Linked DNA regions of Homo sapiens: regions 1, 2, 3, 4 and 6 are each linked to region 5. Evidence: promoter capture Hi-C in 16 types of primary human blood cells and fetal thymus (Javierre and others, 2016). All regions are on one chromosome and are shown on one strand. The core of a region is centred on a gene start or on the middle of the fragment in contact, and the rest is flanking DNA. Distances in the headings are between cores, read along the strand shown.

The links. The method cuts DNA at HindIII sites, captures the fragments that hold promoters and counts their contacts. A CHiCAGO score of 5 or more calls a contact.
Region 1: a contact is called between a fragment that was not itself captured here and the fragment with the promoter of CRYBG3 in region 5, in 4 of 17 cell types (activated CD4 T cells, total CD4 T cells, naive CD8 T cells and 1 more). The highest score is 7.0, in activated CD4 T cells.
Region 2: a fragment that was not itself captured here is called in contact with the fragment with the promoter of CRYBG3 in region 5 in 1 of 17 cell types (monocytes); the score reaches 5.4 in monocytes.
Region 3: a contact is called between the fragment with the promoter of OR5K4 here and the fragment with the promoter of CRYBG3 in region 5, in 1 of 17 cell types (activated CD4 T cells). The highest score is 6.4, in activated CD4 T cells.
Region 4: a fragment that was not itself captured here is called in contact with the fragment with the promoter of CRYBG3 in region 5 in 1 of 17 cell types (activated CD4 T cells); the score reaches 5.9 in activated CD4 T cells.
Region 6: a contact is called between a fragment that was not itself captured here and the fragment with the promoter of CRYBG3 in region 5, in 1 of 17 cell types (M1 macrophages). The highest score is 5.4, in M1 macrophages.

Annotation. Positions count from the first base shown.
Region 1 is chr3:98,571,430-98,575,846 of GRCh38, forward strand. It overlaps a transcript of CPOX not described here. Among named protein-coding and RNA genes, the nearest start is that of CPOX, 20 kb to the right of the region's middle. The HindIII fragment of the contact is 1,470 bases long and covers 1,335-2,804 here.
Region 2 is chr3:98,762,277-98,767,355 of GRCh38, forward strand. It overlaps ST3GAL6 (ST3 beta-galactoside alpha-2,3-sialyltransferase 6), which reads left to right and starts at 1,064. Exons shown (of 10, transcript NM_001323368.2): 1 at 1,064-1,163. The HindIII fragment of the contact is 487 bases long and covers 3,164-3,650 here.
Region 3 is chr3:98,351,145-98,355,875 of GRCh38, forward strand. OR5K4 (olfactory receptor family 5 subfamily K member 4) reads left to right here and starts at 2,710. Exons shown (of 1, transcript NM_001005517.1): 1 at 2,710-3,675. The coding sequence starts at 2,710. The coding sequence ends at 3,675. The HindIII fragment of the contact is 1,273 bases long and covers 2,461-3,733 here.
Region 4 is chr3:98,549,872-98,554,901 of GRCh38, forward strand. No RefSeq gene overlaps it. Among named protein-coding and RNA genes, the nearest start is that of GPR15, 20 kb to the left of the region's middle. RefSeq lists an enhancer at 2,235-2,284. The HindIII fragment of the contact is 1,316 bases long and covers 2,912-4,227 here.
Region 5 is chr3:97,818,925-97,823,337 of GRCh38, forward strand. CRYBG3 (crystallin beta-gamma domain containing 3) reads left to right here and starts at 3,087. Exons shown (of 22, transcript NM_153605.4): 1 at 3,087-3,431. The coding sequence starts at 3,283. It overlaps LOC101929298 (a long non-coding RNA gene), which reads right to left and starts at 2,852. Exons shown (of 3, transcript XR_427389.3): 1 at 2,763-2,852. RefSeq lists a silencer at 2,864-3,233. The HindIII fragment of the contact is 1,453 bases long and covers 2,465-3,917 here.
Region 6 is chr3:98,786,798-98,791,485 of GRCh38, forward strand. It overlaps ST3GAL6 (ST3 beta-galactoside alpha-2,3-sialyltransferase 6), which reads left to right. Exons shown (of 10, transcript NM_001323368.2): 7 at 1,239-1,425; 8 at 1,529-1,666. Among named protein-coding and RNA genes, the nearest start is that of ST3GAL6, 26 kb to the left of the region's middle. The HindIII fragment of the contact is 266 bases long and covers 2,321-2,586 here.

The DNA of each region.
Region 1 (4,417 bases), core at 820-3,319, 750 kb after region 5:
TGTAATCCCAGCACTTTGGGAGGCCGAGGCGGGCGGATCACGAGGTCAGGAGATCGAGACCATCCCGGCTAAAACGGTGAAACCCCGTCTCTACTAAAAATACAAAAAATTAGCCGGGCGTAGTGGCGGGCGCCTGTAGTCCCAGCTACTTGGGAGGCTGAGGCAGGAGAATGGCGTGAACCCGGGAGGCGGAGCTTGCAGTGAGCCGAGATCCCGCCACTGCACTCCAGCCTGGGCGACAGAGCGAGACTCCGTCTCAAAAAAAAAAAGAAAAAAGAAAAAAAAGAAAACGCTGTATTAGTTATGTCTCATAGGGTGTAGTAGGTATTGTTTATATTATCAGTATTTCCTAGATATGAGTAATTTTGGTTTATATTTCCTCTTTGATCCAAGACTGGGCTAAGAAAAAAAGCTGTTGTAATTTACAAGATGTTGGAGTTTTTAGTTTTTTATTTGCTTGTTCATTTTTGTCTTGTTGTATTATAGAGAATATTGTCAGTATAGTTTCTGTTTTTTAAAATTTCTTATGGAGTTTGTAATTTAGAAAAGAATTTTGTCAATTTTTATGAATGTCCCTAGGTACTTGGAAGGGTTGTCTCTATTTTCAGGGTTCAGAGTTCAAAATATATATAAGTTAGAGACACTTTGTTACTCATGTAATTTACATCTTCTACATCTTTAATGTGCTTCCCCTGACTTGCTCTGTCAGGGACTGAGTGAAATAATTCAACAACTACAAGTGTGCATCAGTCTAGCTCCTGGATTTTTTTCTCCTTGTGAATATAGTTATGTACTTTGGTCCATTGATATTTATAGCGTTTTACATTCACATTTTAAGTACTCTTCTTTTTCTTATGTTATGCTTTTAGATGTGAATTCCATAATGGCTGATATGAGTATCATAACTCCTTCATTTTTTTAAGTTTGTACTTGCCTGGTATAGCTATCATTTTTTACTTTCTGAAGTATTTTGTCTTAAAGGTATCTGTTTTTTATAGCATCTATTTCTTTATGGTCCCACTTGAAATATTTTAACAGTATGTTATGAAACTTTTATTTATTGATATGTATGCCATTTTTTATTGATTGATAGGATGGGTATGTTTGCTATAGCTTTATCATATGGTTCTTGTTATTTTCTAAATTTGTAGTTTAAAGTCTCTCACTTAAGTTTGGTTTATATTTCTAGTCTACTGATTACCTTTACTATACTGTATTTAACATCTTCATTCTCCATTTCTTTAGACAGTGTCCATTAGTTTTCTCTAAAACCAATGGGAAATTAGCATCCTTTCACTTCCTGCCCTGTAACTCCGGCCAGAGGTAAGAAGCCAAGCTTTATGGTCATTATATTCTTTCTTTGGTTTATCAAGACATTCTGCTTTCTTCTCCACTTTCATTTTTAGTCCATCAAATTGTAAAAACGTATACACTATTTGAATAAGCAATTTTTCAATTACAAGCTGCTGATTTTTTTACACCCAAAATGTGTGTATTTGTGAAATACCCACATAATTAAATTAATGTATTGTAGACATAATAAAATTACACACAAACAGAGCTTTTGAAATGATAAAAATGTTTTCCTACCTGTCTTCACTGAATCACACACACCCCCTGGGGTATAAACTCTAAATTGAATACACACATTTAGATGAATAGTCCTCAATCTTTTTAGAATTATGTTTCCTCTGAGAGTCAAATTAACATTATTCATTCTCAGACAAAAATGTTCACATTTTCTCAGGCAACTCGCAGTTCAGAGATGGCCAAGGAACTCAGATGCTAAGCATTTAGACATTCAACATTACTGGAATTGTAGACATTGCCAACTTCAGAATCTCCCAATCATAAAGTGAGACATGAAACACAGTGGAGACATTTGACAAGACATAAACAGCATAGTCAAATTAGCCATGCTTGATTAAATATGTAATAACTCCTTTAGATAATCTGTCCAACAACAGCATAGTTCAACAAGAGTCAGATTTCAAATAATTTTCTCATTTCCCTCCTTCTTTGCCTCTCCTCTTTTTCTGTCCTGTTCTCCACCTCTTCTCTCTCGTTTCTCCTTCTTCCTCCCAGCACTTTTTCATTCTCCCTCCTTCCTTGCTTTTCTTTACTTTCTCCTCCTCCACTCCCTGCCAAAAAAAAACAAACAAAAAACCCCCTGCAGATTAGATTTTCTGCTCCACCTACTGGTTCTTTCAAGAATTTCATATTCTTGAGAAACTGAAGACACAACCTGGTATGTTAATGGAGATAATTTTATCATCTAAATTTTAGTATCTGAGAAGACCTTGATAATGTATAAACTAGGATCATTTTTAAGTGTTAACTTAAATCCCAATTTATTAAACATATTAACATAGAGTATAGATCATGTTAACATCTTCTATTTGGAAACAACCATTGTAATATTTGAGCCTTTATTACAATCACATCCCACTTGTCTCTTTAAATTTCCTTCCTCCTATTCTATTTGTTCAGATAGCTGCTTCTAGCTGTCTTTCCTGATACCTCATCCCGTGTTCATTTCTCTGCCCCCAGTTCGGTCTGTGATGCTCTTTTATTACACTGCATGCACTTCCTTGGGTGGCTTACCTTCTTCCACTTCTTCAATTATCACTTTTACAAAATTGGTAGACTTGTGTTTCTAGACTGAGCTCTCCTGAGTTCACATCTCTAAATACTGGTACAGGTAGCTTGCAAGCATTTCAAGCACCTCAAAACTGCTCTTCTCGTTTTTGTTAATGACATTTAATCTGCTTCAATTATCTATTACTGTTTAGCAAACCACTCCAAGCTTAATGACATATAAACAGCAACCATTTTATCACATTCACAGATTCTGTGAGTCAGGGATTCTGATAGGGCACAGCAACGATGGCTTGTCTTTGTTCCACACACGAGGGCACGTCAGCTGAAGACTGCCTCTTGCTGTTTGGGGAGATACCATATCTCCCACACATTACTAAGATGAAGAGTCGGGGTGGGTGGCAGAGAGGTAAAGATGAAAGTAGGTCCTTATTTTTGCTTCTTAGGAATACATTATTTTTAAGCACCACACTCACGTTGAATAGCACATAAGATCAAGTACACATTAAAAAACAAAAAGTACTTTCAGCAGAATTTGTATTAAGGTAGTTTTTTGGTTTTTGGTTTTTTTTGAGACAGAGTTTCGCGCCGTCGCGCAGGCTGGAGTGCAGTGGCACGATCTTGGCTCACTGCACCCCCTGCCTCCCAGGTTCAAGCGATTCTCCTGCCTCAGCCTCCTGAGCTGGGATTACAGGCGCCCATCACCACGCCTGGCTAATTTTTGTATTTTTAGTAGAGATGGGGTTTCACCATGTTGGCCAGGCTGGTCTTGAACTGCTGACCTCAGGTGATCCACCCACCTCGGCCTCCCAAAGTGCTGGGATTAGAGGCATGAACCACCGTGCCCAGCCTGTATTCAGGTAGTATTAATTTAAATGGTCTTTGAGGACATCTGAACTAGTTATTTTTAATAAACTACAGTTTGAACTACAAGAAATTGTGGATTTGTATATTATACTAATGGTTAGAAGAATGTCAAGCAGCAGGTGTGGAACAGATTCTAAAAGCCTGTCTCCCTCATCAAGTCAGAAAATGGAAGCAATCTTGAACCGATCTGAGCATAGATAAATTGCTATAAAGACTTTTATTTATGAAAGCATTATTCACTTGCTATTACATAAGAGGCATTCAGCCAGTACAGCTTTGTGAACTTTGATACCTCTCAACCATCTCATAAGAAAACACATCCATGACAGAGTCAGTGTTGCAACTCTAAATGACTGCAAAGTCAATTTACTTTCCTAAGTGGCTGTATTTGCATCAACCTATTGAAACCATGATGGCTTGGATTATGACAAGTTTTATGTTCAAACGCATTTTGAAATATGAAGGGATTAACAGTAAAAGAATTATTGAAAATACTGTTTGAATGAGCTTAAGATCTAGAATAGAGCTGGCTACACTGATCGGAAGAGGAAATGCAGTTCAACTACCTTGCTCTGCTGGTATATGTTAGTGAATATCCAGTATAAAACCACTTGTAGGCCGGGCACCGTGGCTCATGCCTGTAATCCCAGCACTTTGGGAGGCCGAGGCAGGTGGATTACCTGAGGCAGGATTTCAAGACCAGCCTGGCCAACATAGTGAAACCTTGTCTCTACTAAAAAAATACAAAAAATTAGCCGGGTGTGCTGGCTCATGCCTGTAATCCCAGCACTTTGGGAGGCTGAGGTGGGTGGATCACCTGAGGTCAGGATTTCAAGACCAGCCTGGCCAACATGGTGAAACCTTGTCTCTACTAAAAAAATACAAAAAATTAGCCGGGTGTGCTGGCTCATGCCTGTAATCCCAGCACTTTGGGAGGCCGAGGCAGGTGGAC
Region 2 (5,079 bases), core at 2,157-4,656, 940 kb after region 5:
TCAAAATGTATACAGCTGATCTAATTTGTTGACACTACACAACTCAATATTTTTGGAGGGGGGCATAAATCAGATTTTCTGTTAATTTACTCAGCAATGTCAGAGTTTTTTTCTTAACTTGTATTAAATAGCATTAGTTTATAACTTCAGATTAAATTTAGCCTTTTCGTTGTAATATTGTATGTTTAAAAAATCTATATGTGCTGTTTTTTATTTCTTTAATTATGGTCTATTGAGAATTTCGTCATCCTTCTAGCAGAAAATCCCATCAACCAGACTACTGATTCCTTAGGATTTCTCTCTTTAATTATGAGATTAATAGCTTTTCATATTATAATGTTTCTAAAGAAGTGTGTTTGATAAATGCATAATTTAATGTGTATCATCCCCTTGTTTTATTTTTAAAAGATATTATTAAATGATTATTTAACAGTTCATACTCTTAAAAATATGGTTATTATAGTTTTCTATAAGCCACAATTTCAAAGTGTGGGCTTTGAAATCAGATCTCAGTTTGAATTCTGGCCAGTGCTCTGGGTATTAAACATATCTAGCATGGGGATGAAAATATCCGTGATTTCATCCTTATGTGAAAAAGGGCTTAGTACTGTGCTGGCCATTTAGTAAGTGGTTAATAAACTGTGCTATCATTTACATGATCATCGCTGCCAGAGGTTGTAGATCCTTGGGATATGAATGAAGCTGATCTCACGCATTTGGACTACCTAATTAGTAATAAGGACCAAACCTAAAAGAGAGGTAGTAAATGAATTGAGGAGGACTGAGGCCTTTCCATTCATCACTGTGGAGTCCTGTACATTAAGGCTCAGGTCATATGGAGATGGCTGGGTCTGTGAGGCTTAGGCTTAGGGGACCTATGAGGCTGGACCAAAAAAAATCTAGACATTAATGCATGGCTAGAGTTGGAGGTTCTGTTGTAGATTTGCTCATGTAGGCATGTGACTGCAGATTATAATCACAAATTGAGTAATAAGTACAAAGAGGAAGGAAGGCAGGATGTGAAATCTGTTGGCCATGTTCCACACAGTCTGGAGTGTATGTCAGTGTGAGCTGAAGACCAGCAGAGACTAGGATGGATGACGGCCTGTCCAGGGGCTGAATGGACACAGGTGTCAGCAGGGCCACCTGGTAAAGGTATGGAGGTGAGCCATGAACAAGGTTACCTGCTTAAGGGGAAGGTTGTGGCTTAAATCTAGATGCTGCTGAGATATTAGACATTAGGTGCCCACAGGCTGTGTGGAGGTAGAAGGGGGATGTGCTTCTCTTATTTGCACAAAGATGTGAGTTACTGAGGAGTATTATTGAACAGCAGCATGTTGGGTTTGAGAAGAGACCTAGTAGTAGAAAGAGTAGTATGTCTGCCACTGAGGAAGCAGGGAACAGAAGGGTGCCTCACCCCAGGGCAGATGGGGACATGGTTTAGGATCCTAGTGACTAAAAAAAAAAAAAAAAAAATGGAAGTTTGGCTGCAGAGCTGCTAGGGTGACTAGGAAAGAGAAGAATGCAGACGTTGGAAAAGTGTGGTATAGTTTAAGCACCCAGCAGCAGGAACCCAGGTCCAGTGGATGAGATGACCAGGATCACTACTGGATCCACAGGAACCTGACCCAACTGTTAAGCTGCTAGTCGAGGGCTCCTCAGACTCTCTTTCTGTGGGTCAGAATCAGTCCCAGTGCCTGGGGTGGCTGGGCTTGCAGATGGGCATTAGGAAGCACCTGCTTCCAGACTGAAACAGAACTGGGGATGGAGGAGACAGGGAGGTGAGGTTTGTGTGTGCTCAGCATCCGGAATAGAGAACGCCAAGGGTCTTTCTTCCTTGGTGTTGCATATTGACTGAGATACCCACCGGGTTTTTCTATTAGGTTGGTTTTAAATGACAAAAACCACAATTACTTTTGCACTAACCTAATGCTTGATAAGTAGAACAATGTTTCTAGAATTATTGCTGAACATGCTTTTTTCTAGCTGGTTGGAAAAGCAAGCTCCCTTTGGTTTGAGAAAGCATTAGGGGAGTCTAAAAAAAAACCTGACATTTTTTTCAAGTGTTTCTCCGTAGAGTTTGTTTTTATAAACAATGCTAGCATGGTTGGGAGGAGCAGAACTGGGAACAGGGTTGGGAGTAACAGGCTTTTATTTCAGCTGAGTTTGAATCAAAAGTATTATAAGCTTTACCTCCATTTCATCAATTACTAGAATTGATATTGCTTAAGGAGCTTGCAGGATTGCTTAAGTTGGAGAAATGTTCAGTAATGTTTAGTCTGGTAGCAAAAGGAGGGGCCTGTGCTCACTTGTGAAAGCTCACATCTAGGGGGAGGTAGTATAACGCATGGCCTGTGGCCTGATAGAGACAGATTTGAGTCCTCGTTCTGCTACTTGTCAGCTCAACAAAGTCGTTGCTTCTCCCAGAGTTTTGGTTTCCTCCTCTACAAAATAGGAATTGTAAGTCTACCACTTCTTTTGCAAGGTGGTTGTCAGGATGTCATGAGGTAATACACCAAAAGCAATTATCACATGCCTTGGCACAGGCTAAGCACTCATACATCTTAATGCTTCTAATCAGTTGTTATTCATTGAGCATTTACCACGTGCTAGGCATTTAGGGTAAAAAAAAATAATACAAAGCATCTAGTTATGGGATCTGTATCTGTTACAGTCTCTGTATTTCAGAAATTCTTCCATGGTTCTATTGTATTTCTTAGAGCAGTGATTCTCAAAATTTTAGTGTGCATAAGAATCAAATTGGTGGATGCTGTTTAAATGCACATTCCTGAGCCCCAGAGATTCAGATTAAGTAGAGGCTCAGGAGTGTGCATGTTAACAAGTCCCCGCCTGGTGCAGACTCTTGAGCCTGCCCTAGAGTCACCTCCTTTCACCAATATCTGAATTTACCCTTCTAGACTTCAAGATACCAATGGAACACCATTAGGAATTTTCAGATTAGAATTATCTCTTTTAGATTTGCCTTGTGCTTTTTATCTTGAGAGACAGGATAACACCAGGAATGGAACTCTGAGAAAGAAATGATTGAACCATAAATCTATTTCTGTCTTCCTTAAACTGTGTGACCTCAGACAACTCAACCTTATAAACCTTCAGTTTTCCTCATTCATCAAGAAGACAACACCTGCACACCCATCTAACAAGCTTATTTTGAGCCTTAAATGGAGGGATGGACATATAAAAGATTTTTTATGAACTTTGATGCTCCACACAAAATATGCTTTTACTATTAAAGCAAAGTGAAACATTTGTCAAGATTGAGTTTAATTTGGCATATATAGGTTACTTATACATTGGGTTACATATCTTAGTTGGAGAATATGTGAACATTTGTCCTCTGCCAGTGAGTCCTTCTTTCCCTTGCCATCCTCTACCCACATTTTTGTAAAGGATGTTTTAGGGACCCTGATTTTAGGAGCATCTGCAGCCACAAAGCTGGCATTGGTCCTGTTTAATGTCAAGATCTTGAAAACTCTTTTTTTTGGTAATCAAAGCTATATTAAAGGGCCTTATGTCTTTTTAAAAGCAGATAACCTCTTAAATTCTGTTTTTTTCTTTGAATGTTTTTGCTCAAAGCAAAATGCCCTTCCACTTATACAATATAATTAGATAATTGGTTTATTTGTGGAAGCTTTTTCCTGTGAGCAAGCAGAGGAACCATGTTTATCACAAGGATATCCTGGCTGGCCCGTGTCCTTTGCAACTTGAATACTGAAGCTGTGAATTGTACATGAAATACGATAGTGCCTTAACTTCCTAAATGTTTTTCAGGTGGCGTGTGCAGTAGCTGTTCAAGAGTGGGTTCGTTTTATTGTTTGAAAACAGAGCATTCTCTCACACTTCTTTGTTTTTAATTAGACCACATATTAGTGAATGAAAAACAACAAAACAATAACACAAGTCTCGCTTACCCATACCTCCGTGTTCTGTAGAATAATACATAAATTGCCCAAAGAGTATGTTTTGGAGAATACATAGGAATTTTGACTTGTAAATACTGACTTCTTTCCCTAGACCTTCATATACTGTCTTAGATGTAAATACATTAAAAAATTTTGCTGATACTGGTAAGTTTTATCCTTGTTGGATCTTTGCATAAATGTCATTCTTTTTTTTTTTTTTTTTTTTTTTTTTTTTTTTGGGAAAGGGAGTCTCACTCTGTCGCCCAGGCTGGAGTGCAGTGGCGTGATCTCGGCTCACTGCAACCTCTGCCTCTTGGGTTCAAGCAATTCTCTGCCTTAGCCTCCTGAATGGGTGGGATTGCAGGTGCCTGCCATCACGCCCGGCTAATTTTTTTGCATTTTTAGTAGAGACGGTGTTTCACCATCTTGGCCAGGTTGGTATTGAACTCCTGACCTCGTGATCCACCTGCCTCAGCCTCCCAAAGTGCTGGGATTACAGGCATGAGCCACTGCGCCCAGCCAAATGAAGTTATTCTTAGTGGAGCCTTAAATGTTTGATTTGAGCATTTAATAAGATGTTCCTCACTATTTTGGCCCATGGTAAACTGCCTTCCAGGACCATCTAATAACCCAAAGAGGTAGATGGTGTGTTCTCACTTGTAAACACATGAGGACCCTCAGGTCAGAAGAGGTAGACTGATTTACCTTAGGGTCCCCACACCATATGTAGAGTTAGGCTGTGAATCTTGTCTTCTGATTTCCAACCAGTGTTGACTCTTCACAGGGATTATGTATACCTAATTAGAAGTATGTGTGAACTAAAGTTTGCTCATTAACTTGCTTATTTATTTGCTTTCTCCTGACATAGTTTTCATTTCTAACTAATTTAGAATAGTGGCATGTGGGGGTGGTGACTGCATTAATAGCAGCAAGAACCAACAGCTGACAGCAAGGGAGGAGTGAAAAGCAACTCAACCAGATAATCATGCCAGTTTAGGACTGCTTAGCAAATAGCCCCACACACCCATTAGCTGCAGAGGGTTTCAACTGTAAGAAAGCCCAGAACAATTATATTTGTTGAGCTGACCCCATATTATCAAGAAAAGTTTAAATTATGTTTAGTATATTCTACTTATGAAGGCAAAGGGAGTGGTTT
Region 3 (4,731 bases), core at 1,460-3,959, 530 kb after region 5:
AGATTAATTTGGGGAGCAAAAGAAAGGAATACAACCCTGGGTGATCCTGCCACATTTTTGCCTCTTGTCCACAAATACAAATCTCTCTTCAAATCTCTGTTTAACTTCCACCTCAACTGATCAATGTAAATCTTTTTCTCTCCATCATAGTTTTCAGGTAATCAAGGGGTGTGTGTGTGTGTGTGTGTGTGTGTGTGTGTGTGTGTCTGTGTGTAAGAGAAAGAGAGAGTTTCCAAGTATGTGAAAAATCAAGATGAACCTTAAGCTGTTTTTAGTGATAGCAATTTTGATTTAACTTCCGAATCTCAAAATGCATCCATCTTTATATGCTGTTTGATTTACTGGTGCTGGGGGAACCATGCTCATCAGATTAGAGTCTCTGCAGAAACACTCTGATGCCAATGCCGAGGAAGTCCCTTTAGAATAGAAAACTTTAACTTTGCCTGAGACTTGCATAACTATTGTCACTAACCTATTGGTAGGGAGTGTCCTAGATTTTTATAATTTATTCCCTAATGATTTAAAAACCAATGTTTTTATTCTTAATTTCCCTACAAAGAAAAAACATCAGGAGACCAGTCAGCTACTATAAAATGTTTCTCAGTGAACTCAAAATATGAGGACTTAATTTTATTTACTAATTTATTTATATTATAGTATCAAAATGCAGAATATAAATTTTCTAATATACTTCAGTATTTTTATTGTTTTTAAATTTTAGCCACTTAATAATTCTCTTTGTCTCTAAAGTGAAGCCATTATAGAAAGCCATAAGGAGACATAGTAAGTGGATAAGTCTGACCTATTCTTTGTTCAAAAGTACCATAATTTTATCAGCAAATACACAGATAAGGCTGATGATGTCCTTGTACAGTAATTCTGCGATCTATAGGCAAATTAATTTTTGATTAAGTTCAAAAATTATATTTTACATTGGTGAAGAGAAAATGAGATTTTACTCATTATATTCTGAAATATGATCTATATAAAATAATTATTGATAATAAAATCCATTTTTCCACAGTCCACCTGATAAATATTTTCAGTTGATTTTCCATTAGATGTTACTAAAATAATGATAAAGAGCAGCATTTTATACTTTTACAAAGTTTTTTTAAAAATATAATTCTGAAAGATTTTTTAAAAGAGGTATAGACCTAAAATATAAAGGACATTTTATTGTATTCATTTGATTACAAGCCTCTAGTGATAAAACTCCAGAAAACCTCATCATATTATGTGAGTCAATAGAAAAACAAAAGTAAGAAACAGAGAAAACCTAACCAAAATGTTTTCAAAGTAATTCACTGGCCGGGCGAGGTGACTCATGCCTGTAATCCCAGCATTTTGGGAGGCCGAGGCGGGCGGATCGCCTGAGGTCAGGAGTTCGAGACCAGCCTGACCAACATGGTGAAACCCCGTCTCTACTAAAAATACAAAATTAGCCAGGCATGGTGGCTCATGCCTGTAATCCCAGCTACTCGGGAGGCTGAGGCAGGAGAAGTGCTTGAAACTCTGTCTCAAAAAAAAAAAAAATGTGCTTTGAATTAACTATCGTAGGCTCTTCTCCAAAATTGTCTGTTTGGAGTATGCTAAGGCTAAAGACTTTTAGAAACTTCTAAAAGAAAAGAAAGTTAATTTTATTATTCTTTAAAACTCAAATTGTTTCTGTACCTGAAATATTTTAATGTACAGTTGCCAAACTATAAGAACTATATAATAAATTTAGTTGATCATTAAACTCAAATAAATATATAGCCAGTAAAGAGTAGATAATGAGTTTGTAAATTTAAATAAATTTAAAACTCAAGTAAATAAATGGAGAACCTCCATAGAACTCACTGAAAATGAAGACATTACTTTCTATGAGAGATGTTTGAGTGAATACAAAATAGATATTTACCATGAAGAATATTCACATTATGAGTGGAGATTTTGCCACCAAATCTTACAATGTTGGACATGCATGTAAAACTCTTAAAACTAGAGACAGAAAGTATTAGGATAAGTGAGCAATTAAGAGTAATAACTCCTTGGGAAATTTGTCATACCAAGATTGGAATAGTATCTAGAATATGTTGAAATGAACATAAAAATGATATCCAATACAATGATTAAGAACACTCATAGATGTTTCATATTCTTATCCTCTCTAAAAGGATGAGTAGATATCTCATAAAATATGCAATTGGTGACCTTATCTGGAAAGGGTTACTAAGCTAGCAAAAGCATTCTTCAAATCACTGTGTTTCTGTGCAGTTTTTAAAATGTAGACATTTAAAATGCCTTAAGAGTAATTCATTTTAAGCGTCACATTGATCCAATAGGATACGATTTAAAACTTGTTTACTTTTTCCTGGAGGAAAAGATACCATAAGAAAATGTCTTAATTTTGGAAATGGAAAATTATATGTACTGACCACAGATTTTACATCGGCATAGGATAATTCATGCAGATAAAGCTTTCCTGCCCTAGGAATTCACACAGATATTTTCAGACAAGCCCTGGGTACACAATCCATGATACATTTTTTCTCACTTGATTTGACCCACAGTGAGTGTGCTAGTGTTTAGGAGATGGCACAGGATAATTTGAAGAAGACTTTCTTCCCTTTTGTATACAGGGAAATTAGAGGGTGAGAATTAGAAACATTCTGCTTTGGAATCTTACATTTCTTTACAATTTATGTCTCAGAAGAGAAGCCAGGAATGGCTAGGGAAAATCACTCCTTAGCAGCTGAATTCATCCTCATAGGATTTACAAATTATCCAGAGCTGAAGACGCTTCTGTTTGTGGTGTTCTCTGCCATCTATCTGGTCACCATGGTGGGGAATCTTGGTCTGGTGGCATTAATTTATGTAGAGCGTCGTCTTCTCACACCAATGTACATCTTTCTGGGCAACCTGGCTCTGATGGATTCCTGCTGTTCCTGTGCTGTTACCCCCAAGATGTTAGAGAATTTCTTTTCTGAGGATAGAATTATTTCCCTGTATGAATGTATGGCACAATTTTATTTTCTCTGTCTTGCTGAAACCACAGACTGCTTTCTTCTGGCGACAATGGCCTATGACCGCTATGTGGCCATATGCCACCCACTGCAGTACCACACCATGATGTCCAAGACGCTCTGCATTCGGATGACCACAGGGGCCTTCAAAGCTGGAAACCTGCATTCCATGATTCATGTAGGGCTTTTATTAAGGTTAACTTTCTGCAGGTCTAATAAAATTCACCACTTTTTCTGTGATATTCTTCCACTGTATAGACTCTCCTGTACAGATCCTTCTATTAATGAACTAATGATATATATCTTTTCAATACCAATTCAAATCTTTACCATTGCTACTGTCTTGATCTCTTATCTCTGCATCCTTTTGACTGTTTTCAAAATGAAATCCAAGGAGGGAAGAGGTAAAGCATTTTCTACCTGTGCATCCCACTTTCTCTCTGTCTCAATATTTTACATTTGTCTTCTCATGTATATTGGACCATCTGAAGAAGGAGATAAAGATACACCAGTGGCAATATTTTATGCAATAGTAATCCCATTACTAAACCCTTTTATTTATAGTCTGAGAAATAAGGAGGTCATAAATGTTCTTAAAAAAATTATGAGGAATTATAACATTCTTAAACAAACTTGCTCTATAGCAAATTTATTTTTAATTTATTAAAATGCTTTCATAAAGAGGGAACATAGAAAAATTAATATGTGATTTTACACAAAATGTAAGCTTATAAATCATTAGGCTATGTTTGTTTAAAAAATATATCAATGGAATTTCAAAATTGTTTCACAAATCTTTATCCAAATCCCACAACCAGAATGAATCGGGGAAACTCACTGGTAACTGTTATTACTACCTTTCATGACTCTCATGGAATTGTCAGAGAGTATTATCCTAAACCTCAATTAATCAACATAGCATGAAAGTTAAATGTTTAAATGTGTAGAAGAGTCTTCTTTGATTAATGTTTCCTAGTTAATGGAAGACATTATATCCAATCCTATGTAGCGTGTTTGAAACATTTAAAATTTCCTGGCAGAAAAGTGAAATGATAGTTTTCTTTCAGAAAACTGACCTGAGAGACACATGTGGATTACTTTAGAGTGGAAAAGACTAGAAGCAAACTAATTGCAGTAATTTATATTTAAGGTAATGAAGTTTTATTTAGATAAGATTGCAAGAATGAAAAAAAATGAAAAGGAACACACACACACATACACAGACATATACAGACACAGACACACACATACACACATGCAAAGAGGCTCACCTACAAAATATTCTATTTTGCAGAATAATTAATTGTGACTTATAACAAATTGGACAGAGTAGATTAAGGTCTACTTTAGCCAGAAGCATAATTAAGTTCCTTTTCATTCTTGAAGGCATCAACCATGTTATTGGCTATGTATTATATATAACTACAGTTTACATATTAACACTCATTAAACATTTTAAAACATATTAATAATGACATTGTTTTATTTTTGAGTAATGGTAAGCTGTACCAATATTTTATGTGTTTATTGACCATTTTTACTTTTATGAATTGTCATTTTTGTTTTGTCTGTTTTATTTCTTATTTATATCATTGTTTACAGAGAAAAGACATCACAACTATTTGTGGCAAATAATTCTTCTGTGGGTTGATAGTCTTAGTATTTGTTTCTGATATTTATAAATATTTTAATTTAATATACTCATATTTACTTATTTTTTCTA
Region 4 (5,030 bases), core at 2,320-4,819, 730 kb after region 5:
TTGGAATGCCAAGACAGCATTGCTCTCTCTTTCTCTGTGCCCTATTGAAGCCACCCTATGAAACAAGAGAGCCAGACTTAGAATAAAGTTTACATGGTTGACTGTAAAAAGAAAAGACAAAGTCAAAACTAAGCAAAATGAAACAAAACAAAACATAAAAATGGAGTCCTTGTTGGCATGACTGAGCTTCTAGATTAACCAGCCTACACCTGAGCCTTCCAAGTAACTGAACCTGTACACTTCTTTTGTTATTTAAGCCTGTTTGAGTTGAATTTTCTTTTACCTGAAATCCTAAAGGACTTACCTTATAAACTAGTTCCCCACCAAAGCTTTGCCAAGATTCTCTAATACAATCCTTTAGTTATATGATAAGGTAAAATTTCCCTAAATATGTTCTGAAAAGTACTAATTCCAAGAGAAATTAATAATTATGGTCCTGAAGAGGAACAGCTCAATAAACAGAGTTAGACAGACAGACCTGGATTATTTAACAAAGATTTGTGGTATACGCAAAACATAATTTTTATTTATTATTCCCATTCTAACCTTTTAAAATTTATTCATTAGGGCACTCTTCTTCTGCCCTTGCCTGAAGAATTTGGCAGGTCCATTGACTTTTCTTCTTACTCTTTGGGAAGAGCTTTGAAGCATAAAACACAGTGTCAATTTCGTTCTTTCCTTCCTCTCACTATTCACCTACTCACCAGCTGCTCAAAGAAAGGTGGAGTGGGGGTAAGGTTACCAGATTTAGTCAATAGAAATACAAGATGCCTAGTTAAATTTGAATTTAAATGAATAGTAAATGATTTTTTAGTATAAGTATGTCCCAAAGATTATTTGTCCATCTGAAATTCAAATCTAACTGAGCCTTATATTCTTTCTGATAACCTTAGGTGAGGCAGAGAGGAAAGGTAGGGGGATTTGGTTTGTTGAGCAACTTCCTGTTCTTTGGGCATGGCAGATAGCGAAGGTTATGCAGTTGAGCCAATTTTATGGGTTCTTTGAACATCCCATCATAGGAGACATCTCCAACATCAACTCTCAAGACTTAAGTGATACTCCTCATTCCCCAGGATGCCCACCCCTCTTTAGCCTCTGGTCCACCAGCAGAGGGACTATACACCAGTTACTACCCCCCATCACCAACCCTTGGTTCACAGGCAACAATGAAGCATCTTTGCCCCCATGCAAAGTGGATTCCTGGCCTGATCATCTTTGCCCCCATGCAACATTGCCAAAGCATCTTTGTCCCCACGCAACAGCGAATTCCTGGCCTGACCATCAAAGTCCTAATGAACCAACTTTTGTATTTAGACTTTTCAGGAGAGAATCAACTTGTCTAGAGTGCTCTGGCATACTGCAAACACACTTAAGCTCTTTAAGAGTAGTCCCACGGAAGCCCCTCCCAGCTTGCTGGGCTTGGTGTAGGAGACAGTAACTTTCCCAAGTGGAAAAAGCTGAGGCCCCATAGCACAGCTACTAGTCACTTTTAAGGAAAGCTCACAAAAACCCTCTCTTTATTCTCTGACGGGATCCAAGAGTTTGGAATCCATTCCCAGATATTATGCTTGTACCATCTGCATATAGTGACTTAGCAACAACTTACTTGAGATTTTTGCATTTATTTTATCTTTATGCCTTGTTGAAATTTCAATTTTAACATTCTGTTATATAGCTTTCTTTTCTGGGAAAATTCTCACAACTTTTAATATAGCATGACTAAAGCAAACCTGAAGGAGAGCTGAACTGCCTTCCTAGACTGGCTGTCTCATGCATGACCTCTACTCCTATTTGCCGAAAATATCCTCCCTATAACAAAATAATGGCAGGAATTTTAGGGGACTGGATTATTGTAAGATTCCTGGTGAAACCACAGTCCTCAAACCATACCTTGAAAAAATTCCTGCAGGAGTTAAAAACATTTCCCTTTATTGTATTCTTCTAATCTCCCATCTCATTCTACAAAACTCCTCCACAGAGGCCTTTGCTCCTCAGGCTTCTTATCTAAGTAGTGCCACGTGTCAAGTCCAAGGTCCCTGAATAGAAAGATTAGACTGGGTAAAACAGGAGTATGGCTTTCATGGGATCTGGGACCTATAATAACCTCTAACTATGAAGTTTAGGTGAGAGGCTTCCTCATCCGGCTACAAAGACCTCAGTTTCTTAGGTGTGAAAGGAGGAAGTTGAACTACGTAGTTTCAAATGACCCCTCCAACCTGAAAAACAGATGACTTTGATTCTAAATTCTTCAGGGAGTAGGACATGGATGCTGCAACAGTCTTATACCTTAGGTTAATTCTAAGAATTAAAAGAACCTTCACTGAAAGGAGAGTGACACTGACGAAGGTAGAAAGTTTTCGTGGTAGCTTCCTAAGGAAAATGTGGCAGAATTAAATGATCCTACTTGGAAATAGAGAAGTAAGATTTGTAACTACAACAGACCAAGCCATTCCCAGGCAGTGGATCTCACTGGGCAAGCAGAGACCTTGGCGTCTCTCACTGTACCTGGGCCACTTTCCATAGTCCATGCTCTGCCAGTGTTACTGAAACACCAAGGGTTTGGTCTAGGTCCTGCTGCTCACAGCACAGAAAGTCAATCACTGAGATAATGGTTATTGCCAAGGAAGAAGATTTTAATCAAGTGCTATAGCCTAGGAGATGGGAGGTCAGTCTCATATTCATCTCCCTGACTGACTAAAATTAGGACTTTATATAGCAGGAAAGAAGTGTAACTATGTACGGAAAAACAGGAACCTGGGAGGGATAAGGGTGCAATCATGATGAATGAGGGGCCCTGAGTCTCAGTGTCTGGATGCTATGATCTGGTGAGTTTCAGTTCTTTCATACTTTTTGAGAGGGCTAGGGGTCCTATCCTCAGAAAGAAACACAGATAAAACAAATGTAAGTTTCAAGCTTTAAGAAGAGAAGGGACAATTTCTGTTTATCCAAAATAACTGTCTATGAAACTATTGGGTGAGTTTCACCAAGTTTGAGTCCAAAGCCTATCTCAAGTCAGGTAATCCATTAATGGAAATGGAATCTCTCTCTCTCTCGCTCTCTCTCTCTCTAATTGTACAAAACTCTTAGATTACACTAAAAGTGCCTCATATTCTTTCGTGGTATTAGGTGATGTATCAGGATCCCAGGAGGAAACAGACAGCTTGCCAAAATTAATCAAAGGGTGCTTTCCAAAGGGGATCACAAGGCATAGTGCGGTAGCCTGGGGTTTGTAACAACAAAACTTTTATCTATGTCCAAAAAGAAGAAGAAAGAGCTGTTCTAAGCCCCTGAAAGAAGACAGTGTGCTGCCCTCTCCACATTTCTCTAGAGAAGGCTTCCAACTTGAAGCGGCCCCACAGGGAAAGTGCCAAAATAAGTACCCGTGAAGCCAGTAAAAGACATTTTGAAGTCATCCCAGTTCTTGCTAGTTGAAGTACTTTCCAAAGCAATTCTCTTAATGCTTACAGTTCGTTGAAAGTGTATCCTCACTGAGGAGAAGCCAGAGGCAGAAAATTCTTCCGGCAATGCACATGCAAAACAACACTGACTTTCTGATGTGGGTTAGGTGTGAGTACAATCTTAATCTAAAATGACTCCTTAAATATGCTCCTCTACCTGAGATTAAGGTACTGGGGAAAAAAACGTTCTGAAAGTTTGCTACTTGTTATTCTTTCTAATGAAATACAGGAAAAACTTATTTTTCTTTGGATACACTCAGTGTGAATAAAATTAACTCATGGACCAAATTCCTAGATTTAAACTGGAAGGAAGTAAGCTCTAGAGCCCTATCTTAAATTCCCAGCATTGTTTCAGAAGGCCACTGGAGTCAAACTTTCATAGCCTTAGCATAGAGTTGTTTCATCTGAGGACCTTCTCGTGTGTCCTGCGCTGTCCAGTATATTTCTTCATTTAAAAACTTCAGTTAGATCTTTTCTCTTAATTGCATTTTTACCCAAAAGAATAAGCCAAATTCCTGCAAGGTTTAGGAAATATATGTATATGGCAAAGTACTGGACTAGCGAATATATGGCAAAGTACTTCCTCACTTCACACCCATACTCACAACAGATGTGGCTAATCAACTGCTTCCAGTTCCTGGAAATTGTAAAATATGGTAGTGAGTTTCTCTGTCAACAAATTCTCTGTTGGCCAAAGGAAGTAGCTTCTGTGTCCTTCCTCTTTTAGTCCCTTCAGGCCTTTCAAAGTGCTATTAATATATACTATAAAAGCTTTGTTAGGATCTATGTAATAAATCATTACCTCATAGAAATAGATCATTCCCTGTAATTAACCTTTTACCAGCATTACTAATCAATTATGCTTCTCTTTCTTATCTGCTCCTGTTAATCTTGTAACATTCCATATGTTAAGTAGAAATCATAACTAATTAACATTTATCCTTTAGGTAGGCCAGGCTACTTACTAAAAATACTCTGCAAAACAGTTTGTCTTCTTATGGTTTACTGTTTACAACCTGAGCCAGAATCCTTCCACTTCCAAGTAAGACTGGGGTTCAACTGGGGTGGGGAGCACATCAAATGAGGGGGTACATCATTCCCTCCTTGTCTAATGCTTTAAGACTAATCAAATCAAATTCTGTAACACTAAAGTTGGAAAAGAACTCTCTTGATGCTTAAGATAAGTAATTTTTAAGACAATGTAAATACACTTTAACGAAAGGAAAGAAAAAAGGGAAAAAAGACAATGTAATACACTTAGAACAAAAGACTTGTCATACACGATACATAACACAAAAGATTAGCTTCAGGAGAATGTAGATAATTGCATGATGGTAGATTTTTATCTTTCACTCATTTGTTCAACAAACATCAACCATTACCAAGCCAAACACTTGCCAGATACTGTTTTAGGCATTGTATATAGGCTCATCCTAGACTTTAAAAATTGTCTGGAGAGTAACCACCAGGTCGCCATACATAATATCCCTGGATTGGTCTAAAACAGGTAGGATTTGGGTGGATGAATTGTAAATCTGATCCAGTTTGGCATTTCTTATGATCTAATAACAA
Region 5 (4,413 bases), core at 1,837-4,336:
CTTTTTTTCCTATATTTTTGGCAGTGTACTCTTCAATAGCCTTTCATATGACAATAATTTAGTAATATTATTTTCCATAATAATGAAAAGATAATGCAATCTTTCCTCTAGTTCTGTTTTTCTTATTGATAGAAAGGCTGTGTAAACATGCAGTACTACACACACACACACAAAGCTTGTGGTACTGCTACAGGTTTGTACCCTACAAACAAGAATTCTGATAAATTCTATTTTACATGGTTTACATCAACAAGAAAAAATGTTTTGTGTTTACAGTTATAAAAATTATTTTGGGTGGCTGAGACGGGTGGATTACCTGAGGTCAGGAGTTCGAGACCAGCCTGACCAATATGGTCAAACCCCGTCTCTACTGAAAATACAAAAATTAGCTGGGCATGGTGGTGGGCGCCTGTAGTCCCAGCCACTCTGGAGGCTGAGACAGGAGAATTGCTTGAACCCAGGAGGCGGAGGTTTCAGTGAGTTGAAATTGCACCACTGCACCCCAGCCAAGGTGACAGCGCCAGACTCTGTCTCAAAAAAAAAATTAAATATACTGCATTATTGAATATATTATTGCTATGAGAGAAATTACATCAATCGGAGGCAATCCTTCCTGTTGAAACTTTGTCTTCTGATGCCTGGAATAATTTTCCACATGACACCTGATGCTGCTTTACCTTTCAAATCTTGTCTCACCTCTATTACCCACATATTTTCAGTGTCAGAGACCACAGAATATATCTCCTCTGGCTCTGCATCTTGGGTGTAATACTTGGTGAGCTGCGCTACAAACAAATTGGAATTTAAGAAATAACTATACTTTGGAGAGGCTGGAAACCACATAAATATATTCCACTAAGTCCAAACTAAATATATTCCCAACTGAAATTCCCTAGCAGATTCCCAAATGCTCTTGATAACTCTAAGTGGAAAAGAAAATCTAAGTGGACATCTAAGTGGAAAAAAAAAGAGATTGTGGTCTTAATCACATTAAAACATTTACTTTTGTAAATTTGATAAAACTGGCCATGGATCCCATTGCTGAGTTCACACTGGAAGAGACTGTGCCAGCAGGGAGCCAAGAAACTTGAGCCTCATCGGCTTCACTGTAGATGTGCTTCTACTGCAGGCACTCACTAAACGTCGGGGAATAACTGGATCAGTGAATTAATGACACTGTGCTAAATTAGTATCTCTAAGATCCTTACAGCTCTAAAATTTGACATTTTTACAGGCTTCCTAATGCAATCTTAGAATTTAGTATTTAGAAATTTGTTCATATGAGTTCAGGTTATAACAATGTAGGACATATAGAAAACTAATAAGTGCTCAGAAAGCAAATGAAGGAAAATTCAATGGTCATTGTTTTATGACTTTAAGCTATTTTGTCATAGACGCAATTTGTCTTAGTGTAAACATGGCATTATTTGTATTTACCATTCACTTAAGTGCTTTGCTGTGCTACCGAGTGGAGATCAGAGTATTGTTAGATATATTATTAGTTAAAACCATAATTCATTAATTAAATCCTATTGACTCCCCCCCATTTTTATTCCAAGAAAAACTTCCTGAACGAAGTACCCTCTGGGTAGGCACTGGGGCCTGGTTTGATCACAGAACAAGTCAGGGACAAATGTGATAGTCATTCAATAATACGTTGGGAAGACAAATTATCATTTGGGCCTTTTAGCTGGAAGAAACAGTTTGCTTTATTACTCTCTTTGGGCTTTTTGGTAAGTGGGTCTTCAGTGGAGATTCTCTTATAAAATAATAAAGCTAGAATTGGGAACTTGTCTTATTCTAGTCTATTATCTTAGTCTTTTTCTATTTTCTCAGACTAGGCTCACAGAGAAATAGGAAAAATTTACCAAAGAGTAAAAAAGGATTAATCTTGAGGGATAGACTGAGATGAACCCGATTGATGGAAATCGGGCTGACTGAACTTTAATGGGTTAAATCCTGCCAGAACAAATGAGAATGAGTGTCTTGGCTCTATTGCAGTTAGTAGGAGCTGGAGGGCTTCTGGGAGGCAGCGTGGGGAGGCAGGGAGGCTCAATAGCCTCCAGCAGGTGCTGAAAGGACTTGGGGCTTATAGGTATGCAATCTACTTATGAGCAACCTTCTCCTCCAGCACCCGAAAGCCAGAGGGGAGATTACTCCAAGGCTCCCCTCTGCTGTGGACATTTCATTTTTATCTCATTTACTTGTATACATTTTTTAATGAACAAAAGCCATATCACTTCCTTGACGTCTACTCCAGGGGCAGCTTGCCTTCAAACAAAAACAAAACACTTGGGGTGAATGGGCCTCTCAGTATCTCCTGTACTAGCTGCTATAGGGTATGAAAAACCAAGAAAAATCCATACCACTGTACTTAGACTTAAAACAAGTCTTAAGCACCCTTTGGTTCCCAGATTTCAGTGGCATCTGTGTAACGACTGCAAAATATGTTGCAGCATTGACAAGCTTGAAATCATACTTTTTGATCAGTGCCGTTTTTGAAAGAGTTCGCAGGGAAGTATGGCGTGTGAAAAGTCTGAAGCACAGCGCGGTTAGGAAAAGTCACACCACAGAAAGCCAGCAGAACGCGCCGGGAGGTGGTGACCGCCTGACAGGTACCCCCTTCTCCCTCCCGCCGCCCGGTTCTGTGCTAACGCGACTTTCGCCCTCAGGGTTGGAGCTGTATTTGCGGTAGCTGTTTCTTAGCTCCCAGCAAGTCCGGGGCGCCCCGGTACTGCAGTTTGCCAAGTGTTTTCACAAACCTTAGTTCATAAACCTCTTTCAAAAGCCCGAAGAAAACCGTTTCTGTGCTCTGACTGTAGAATAGAAAACACAACGGTCACAGAAAGTAATTGAAGGCAAAGCCCAACAGGCTGCAGCCTGAACTTGTTTGAGCCGTAAGCCCGAGCCTAGCGTCGCACGCTGGGCGACTCCCCTCAGGCTCTCAGGCCGGCGCCTTCGGGGGACCACGTAGCGCCCCAGCGGTGGCGGCTGCGCCCGGCTCAGGGCGGTGCCGCGGCCACTGGCTCCTCCTCGGGGTGGGGCGGGCCGCGCCGGGCGAGGGCGGGAGGAGGAGCAGCCGCAGCGGCGTGAGGAGCTGCCGCGCGAGGAGCGCGTCGCGTCCGCACTTCTCCTGCCCGAGAGAGACTGAGCCGCGCTGGCAGCTCGCGTCGAGTCGGTCTGCCCTAGCCGCATCCCGCGGCGCCCGGTCGGGCTCCGGGCACCAGGCAACACCTAGGCCGTTCCCTTCAGACAGCCCCGGGCCAGCGGCCCCCTCGGGAAATGTCCAGCGGCCGCAGAAGGGGCAGCGCCCCCTGGCACAGCTTCTCCCGGTTCTTCGCTCCCCGAAGTCCTTCCCGGGACAAGGAAGAGGAAGAGGAGGAGAGGCCGGGGACGAGCCCGCCTCCAGCTCCAGGCCGGTCCGCTGCCAGGTGGGAGTCGAGGAGGGGGTCGCGGGGGGGCCCTGCACATATTCGCGGGATGAAGGCTCCCGGCCTGACCGCCGGCAGCGGGCCGCTCTTGGGCCAGGCTGCAGTTCGCTCGCCACTTTCTGTTCTCCTTCCTCCATTGCTAAAGTTTCCTCCTCCTTGCCCCGTTCCCGTGCCGCACTACTCGCCTCTCCTCTGCAGGTTAAATCGGGGTGAAGTTCTTGCCCGGCAGCCGGACGCATATCCCCCGATCCCCGCCTGGCTCCGCGCTCTTCCTTTCCCACTTTCCCCTGCCCGGACGTGATTGGGTTCCCGTTCCACACACGCTCTACTCTCCAAGTTCTGTGGCAAAAGCGATTTCCCCGGCGTCCCGCCTGCAGTAATGGGAAACACTTGTGAGCCGAGCGGAGCCGTCGGCCAGGGGAATTGGGGGCGCGATCCCAGCACCACTTGTGTGGGAGGAGATCGGGGCAAAAGTGGAAAAGGTAAAGCTTTGGGGCGTCACCCCCTCAGCTGGTATTTTTGCCATCTTATTTAAATTTTCTCAAAATGATTTTTAAAAGGAATTGTGATAATGCGTTCCCAAGACTTTCACCAAAATGGACTGGACATGTAAATGACGCCACCCTTCTTTATTTCTCATCTCTCCTAGAAACATCTGCCTCAAGTTCCCAAACAGATTCTGGAAATCAGGTTTCCAGCTGTCTTGGTTTCAGTAATCAAAATGTACCCTTTCTCTGTAATATTTTTATCTTTCCTTCACTTTCCCATGTTCAAAAATCAAAAAATTTTAGACATGCCTCATTTAAATGCCTGTTTCTGAGTCTTTTCATCCCCCCGAAGAAAGAGGGGTTAAGTAAAACGCAGCTCGCTTTCTTAAACTTATGAGAGGCTTACACTGTCTTCTCCCGAGATTGCACTAGAATGACCATTGTCATTGGAAGGACACACTCCAGAAAACCGTGTTTACTTCGGACTCAAGATT
Region 6 (4,688 bases), core at 1,204-3,703, 970 kb after region 5:
CAGAACACAAGTGTGGTTAATGTTTCATAATGGAAAGGAGAGCCAGGATTGTGGTTACAACTACCAAGAGTCCCTCTGATGTAGTGAGGGGAAAATACGGACCTTTCTATCTCTATTTTTTTAGTGAAAGGTCAAGATAAGGTCATCATCTGGGATAAGTGTGTGTGTGTGTGTGTGTGTGTGTGTGTTAGGAGTAGCTATGAATAGTTTAAAGAATGGCAAAGTTAGCATACTGAGGCAATACATTAGGATGGTTTGGCAGCTTTGGGGGTTTTGTGGGGTTACAAGCTGCCTAGGGTTTCTGCATGGTGAGGTCACCTTATTTTCTGTTTACTATCCATTTTGAGGAAGCTGTGATAATTTACCTACAAAACAATTTTGAAGCAATCACAGGTTTCTCTACCCATAATTGTCTAAATCTGATAATTTAGAGCCACAGGAAACCCTTGCAGGAAAATATCATGGGTACAACATTTTGAAAGTCATCTCAAGTGTTAATAAGTCTGTTCGTCTTATATTACGTAGAGTCAGTAGCAAAGGGCAAAACAGTATTTATCTCTTTGGGGACACTGTTTTGGAAACAAAGCATTTCTTTTTTTATAGCATGGCTTCATAATGTGTGCATAAATAGTGCATGTCCAACCTTGGCTTTCAGCATACACAAACCCAACAGTAGATCCTTTGTGGTTCTTTAGTTTACTCTAGCAATAGACATTCATTTGGTTGTGCTTGAATATAATATAGCAGATTTATATTGTTAACCTTATTTCAGAGTACAACAATTTTGATGGGTCTTTAAACCAACTTAAATGTGATTCTTCTTACCTGTCAGTCACACACATCCATGTGCTACATGACTGTGTGGCTTTGAGCAAGTAATTTTCTCTCCAGGGGTTTGTCCTCCAAGTTCTCTTTCAACTCTGGTATCCTGTGGCTCTGTGTTCCCACTTTTTTAAATTTAGTCTTCAGTTCCCCTGGAGGTAAGACTGAATTATCATTGGCTCCACAATTAATTTTCAAATACAAATGAACATTTCTGCCTTTGATCAACCAACTATTTCATGAAAAGGAATGATCTCCTTGGCCATTATGTGTGAAAGATTGATCTATTGCTTTGTGGCTTCAGAGCACAGGATAAAAGGCTGATGTTTGTCCAACTCTGAAACCTCTGAGAACTGTGATGGGAATGGCAGATACTGCACTTGGTCTACATATCTTGTATGTTTTACTATCCACAGAATGAATAATGGTCCTGTTTTAGGACATGAAGAAGAAGTTGGGAGAAGGACAACCTTCCGACTTTTTTATCCAGAATCTGTTTTTTCAGATCCTATTCACAATGACCCTAATACGACAGTGATTCTCACTGCTTTTAAGCCACATGATTTAAGGTGGCTGTTGGAATTGTTGATGGGTGACAAAATAGTAAGTAGGCAAAATTGTTCTGCCTTCAGATTACCTTTAGTGCTTTTTTTCCTTAAAAAACAGACAGCCACACTGTTCTATTCTCTATATTTTTTACTTTCAGAACACTAATGGTTTTTGGAAGAAACCAGCCTTAAACCTGATTTATAAACCTTATCAAATCCGAATATTAGATCCTTTCATTATCAGAACAGCAGCTTATGAACTGCTTCATTTTCCAAAAGTGTTTCCCAAAAATCAGGTATGTATTTATCTCTGCATGGTTTCAAACTACAGATCTGGCTGAGGTAGGATAGAGGGTCCTGGGAACTCTCAGAAACTGTATGAGAACCACAGCTCATGAGATGATTTCTGAGGGCCATCTCTGAGTTAGTAAAAGTAGTTATCTATGGATATTATCTTTATGTTTTTCATTTATGTTGCAAGGAAATGTAATTTTAAGTTGGGTTTTTTTCCTGCCCTTGTAGGGCCTTCCTGGGGTCTCTTTGTGCATGCCGAAACAATTTATCTTTCATAACTCTGTCTTCAGTGTTCTGCAGTGAGGAGAGTCTGACTGGGTGGGCTGACGGGCAGGCTTGTGCTCAGAGTAGCTGGCCTGGCTTCAGGCCAAGTGCATGGCTTTGCAGGCTAAAAAGAAGTGTCTGAGATGCTCTGATAAAAATATCACAGGAAAGCCAGAGGAAAGGTGAGGAAGGACAATAAAGTAGTCCAGAAACATTTCTGTGGTCAGAGGAAATGTTGGCATTAAATTCTCAAGAAATGGTAGCTACAGCAATATTGAAAGAGTTCTTGAAACTTCAAAATGAAATCTCATTGACTTTCACTCCTGTTTGCCTTCTTTCCCTAGAAAACAATACTCTAGACCCATACAGTGGCAGAGATATTTTTTACTGGAAGCTTGAGTAACTGTATAACATGACACCTTGGTTGAAATGAGTTTTTCACCCCTTTTTAAAGTAGGGAAAAATCCAAAGAAATAAATATACATCATGTATTTTCATGATGTATATTTAGCATGATAAGAATTGTGATTAAGAAATTCAAAAGTGTTATATGCTGAAAACAAATGTTAGTGTTGCACACTGAAATAAAGGAATATTAAAAATCAAAAAGGAAGTCACCAGTCTATTCTCTTCCCTCTACAACCCATGTAACCTCTCAAGCTTTTCTACCTTTTATGTGCTTCCAGACTATTTGCTATGCATTCATAAACACATAATCTTTTTGTTTGTTCAGTATAATTATGATTATACCATAGGTATTGTTGTTATTTTCTTTTTTCTCTTTATTTAACTCTTCCCCTATTTATAGACACTCAGATATATCCAACATTTTCTTCTCTTTAAATAATATAGCAGTACATGTGTTTATAGGGGTTTTCTGCCCATTTGTCGGATTTCTGTAGGATGGACTTCTGGAAGTGGAATGCTCAAGTCAAAAAGCATACATGTTTTAAATTTAAACCTGACTTCCTAGTAATTTTGAGGGTAAAGGACAGCTTCTGAATGTGTGTTTTGTGAGTTTTCACTTCCTATATTCCTAAGTGAAGTATGATCAGGTATATCTCTTGCTTCTTCATTTTAGGTAATATCTTTAATTCCAAAAGCACAGGAAGACCCTGAGCATACTTAGTGATGACATTAGAACTAGCTGTAGCTACATCAAAGTCCCAGTAGGACATGGTGTCCCAGAAATCAAATGCTGTATTTCAAGAGAAGTCAGCCATGTCAGATGCTGTCCAGAGGTTGAATGTAAATAATAAACCCTGGTTTTAGAAACGTGGAGGTCATATTGGTGATATATATTAACAAGAAAGAAGGAAAAAGCCTGCTTGAATTGGGTTGAAGAGAACCTGGGACATGAGCAAGCAGCAACAAATCTTTAGTGGACTTTTTGCTAGAACAAGGATCGTAGAAATGAAGCAATAGTTGGAAGATGATATAGGATCGAAGAAGCGTGTTTTATTTTTGGTCTGTGTATATGCTGAAGGGAATGGTTCAGCAGAAAGAAACACTGATGATGAGGGGAGAAAGTAGTTAAGTACAGAAGTAAAATTGTTGAGAAGTGATATGGGATAAAATATACACTAGTGAAAAGTTGCTGAAGTTACATCTCATCCATTATAAGAGGAATAAGCACTGCAAATGTGAGTAAAGATACAGGTAAGATGGTAGATTTGGAGTTGGGATGATGAAGCCACTCTTTTGACTGCTTTTGTTTCCTTAAAAAAATAAAGATTAACTAGTCAAATTAGGAAGAAGACTAGGGCTGTTGCAGGATACAAAGTTATAAATTCTCATCTTGGAGAGTAGGAATGGAAATTTACTAGTCAAACGTAACTGGATTGCTAGGCAATACTTACTGCCTGTTTGAGAGTTGGGTCATAAATTCAACATTCAACCAGGTAAACGTATTTTTCTCTTGCCCTATTCTGTTGCTGGGGTGTGGGTACAGGGTGACTGCAGTGCTTATTCCTCTTATAAGAGTTTGTCAGGTGGTAATATAGGTTCTGTGGGTGATGGCTGCAGAAGAGCTGGTCTATATAAAGGAATGGTTATAAAGACGGATGAAGGACTCTTAAGATGTGAAGAAAGGAAGTAGAAGACATGAAAAGGGGCAAGGAGAAGGAAAAAGCAATGGGATCAATGAGGCTGAATGACTCCTAGGTTACAATGGTACATAGGATAAAGAAAATTTTATGCTGAAGGCAGTTAATGCTTTCGGACAAGTTTGCCTCCTGGAATTGATTTGGTTGTGCTTCTTCGATTTTTTTTTCTTTTCCTCAAAATCATAGTAAGTCATATGTAATTTCAATGGGAACTATAAGAAACACTTTATTGAAAGTGTTATGTAAAAAGCTTAAGATGTATCTTGTTTTTCGCTTTGAAGGCCATCTCAGTGAGAATTACAATTTCTGAAAGCCAAGACCCTCTTGTCAAATATCTATCACACTGGTTTTCAAGATATATGTAAGATAAGGAAAGAGGATGCTTGGTTTTTCTTTCTAAAAGTATAATGGTGCAGCTGAGATTGTGATATTGCTATGTATGCATTTGGAATATTTATTTTCTAGTCAGATACTGTTACAATTTATCATTGAAGTACTAGATTAGCCTTTCCCTAGAGTTAGTTTAAATGGTGAGTATAAAATATAGCTATTCGAAGGCGAATTTATATGAAGTCTTTTATCATGATTCCATCCGTTTGTGAATGAAGCTGTCCTTATATTTCATACACGTGTTCAAAATTCCCAGGCTTTGCTT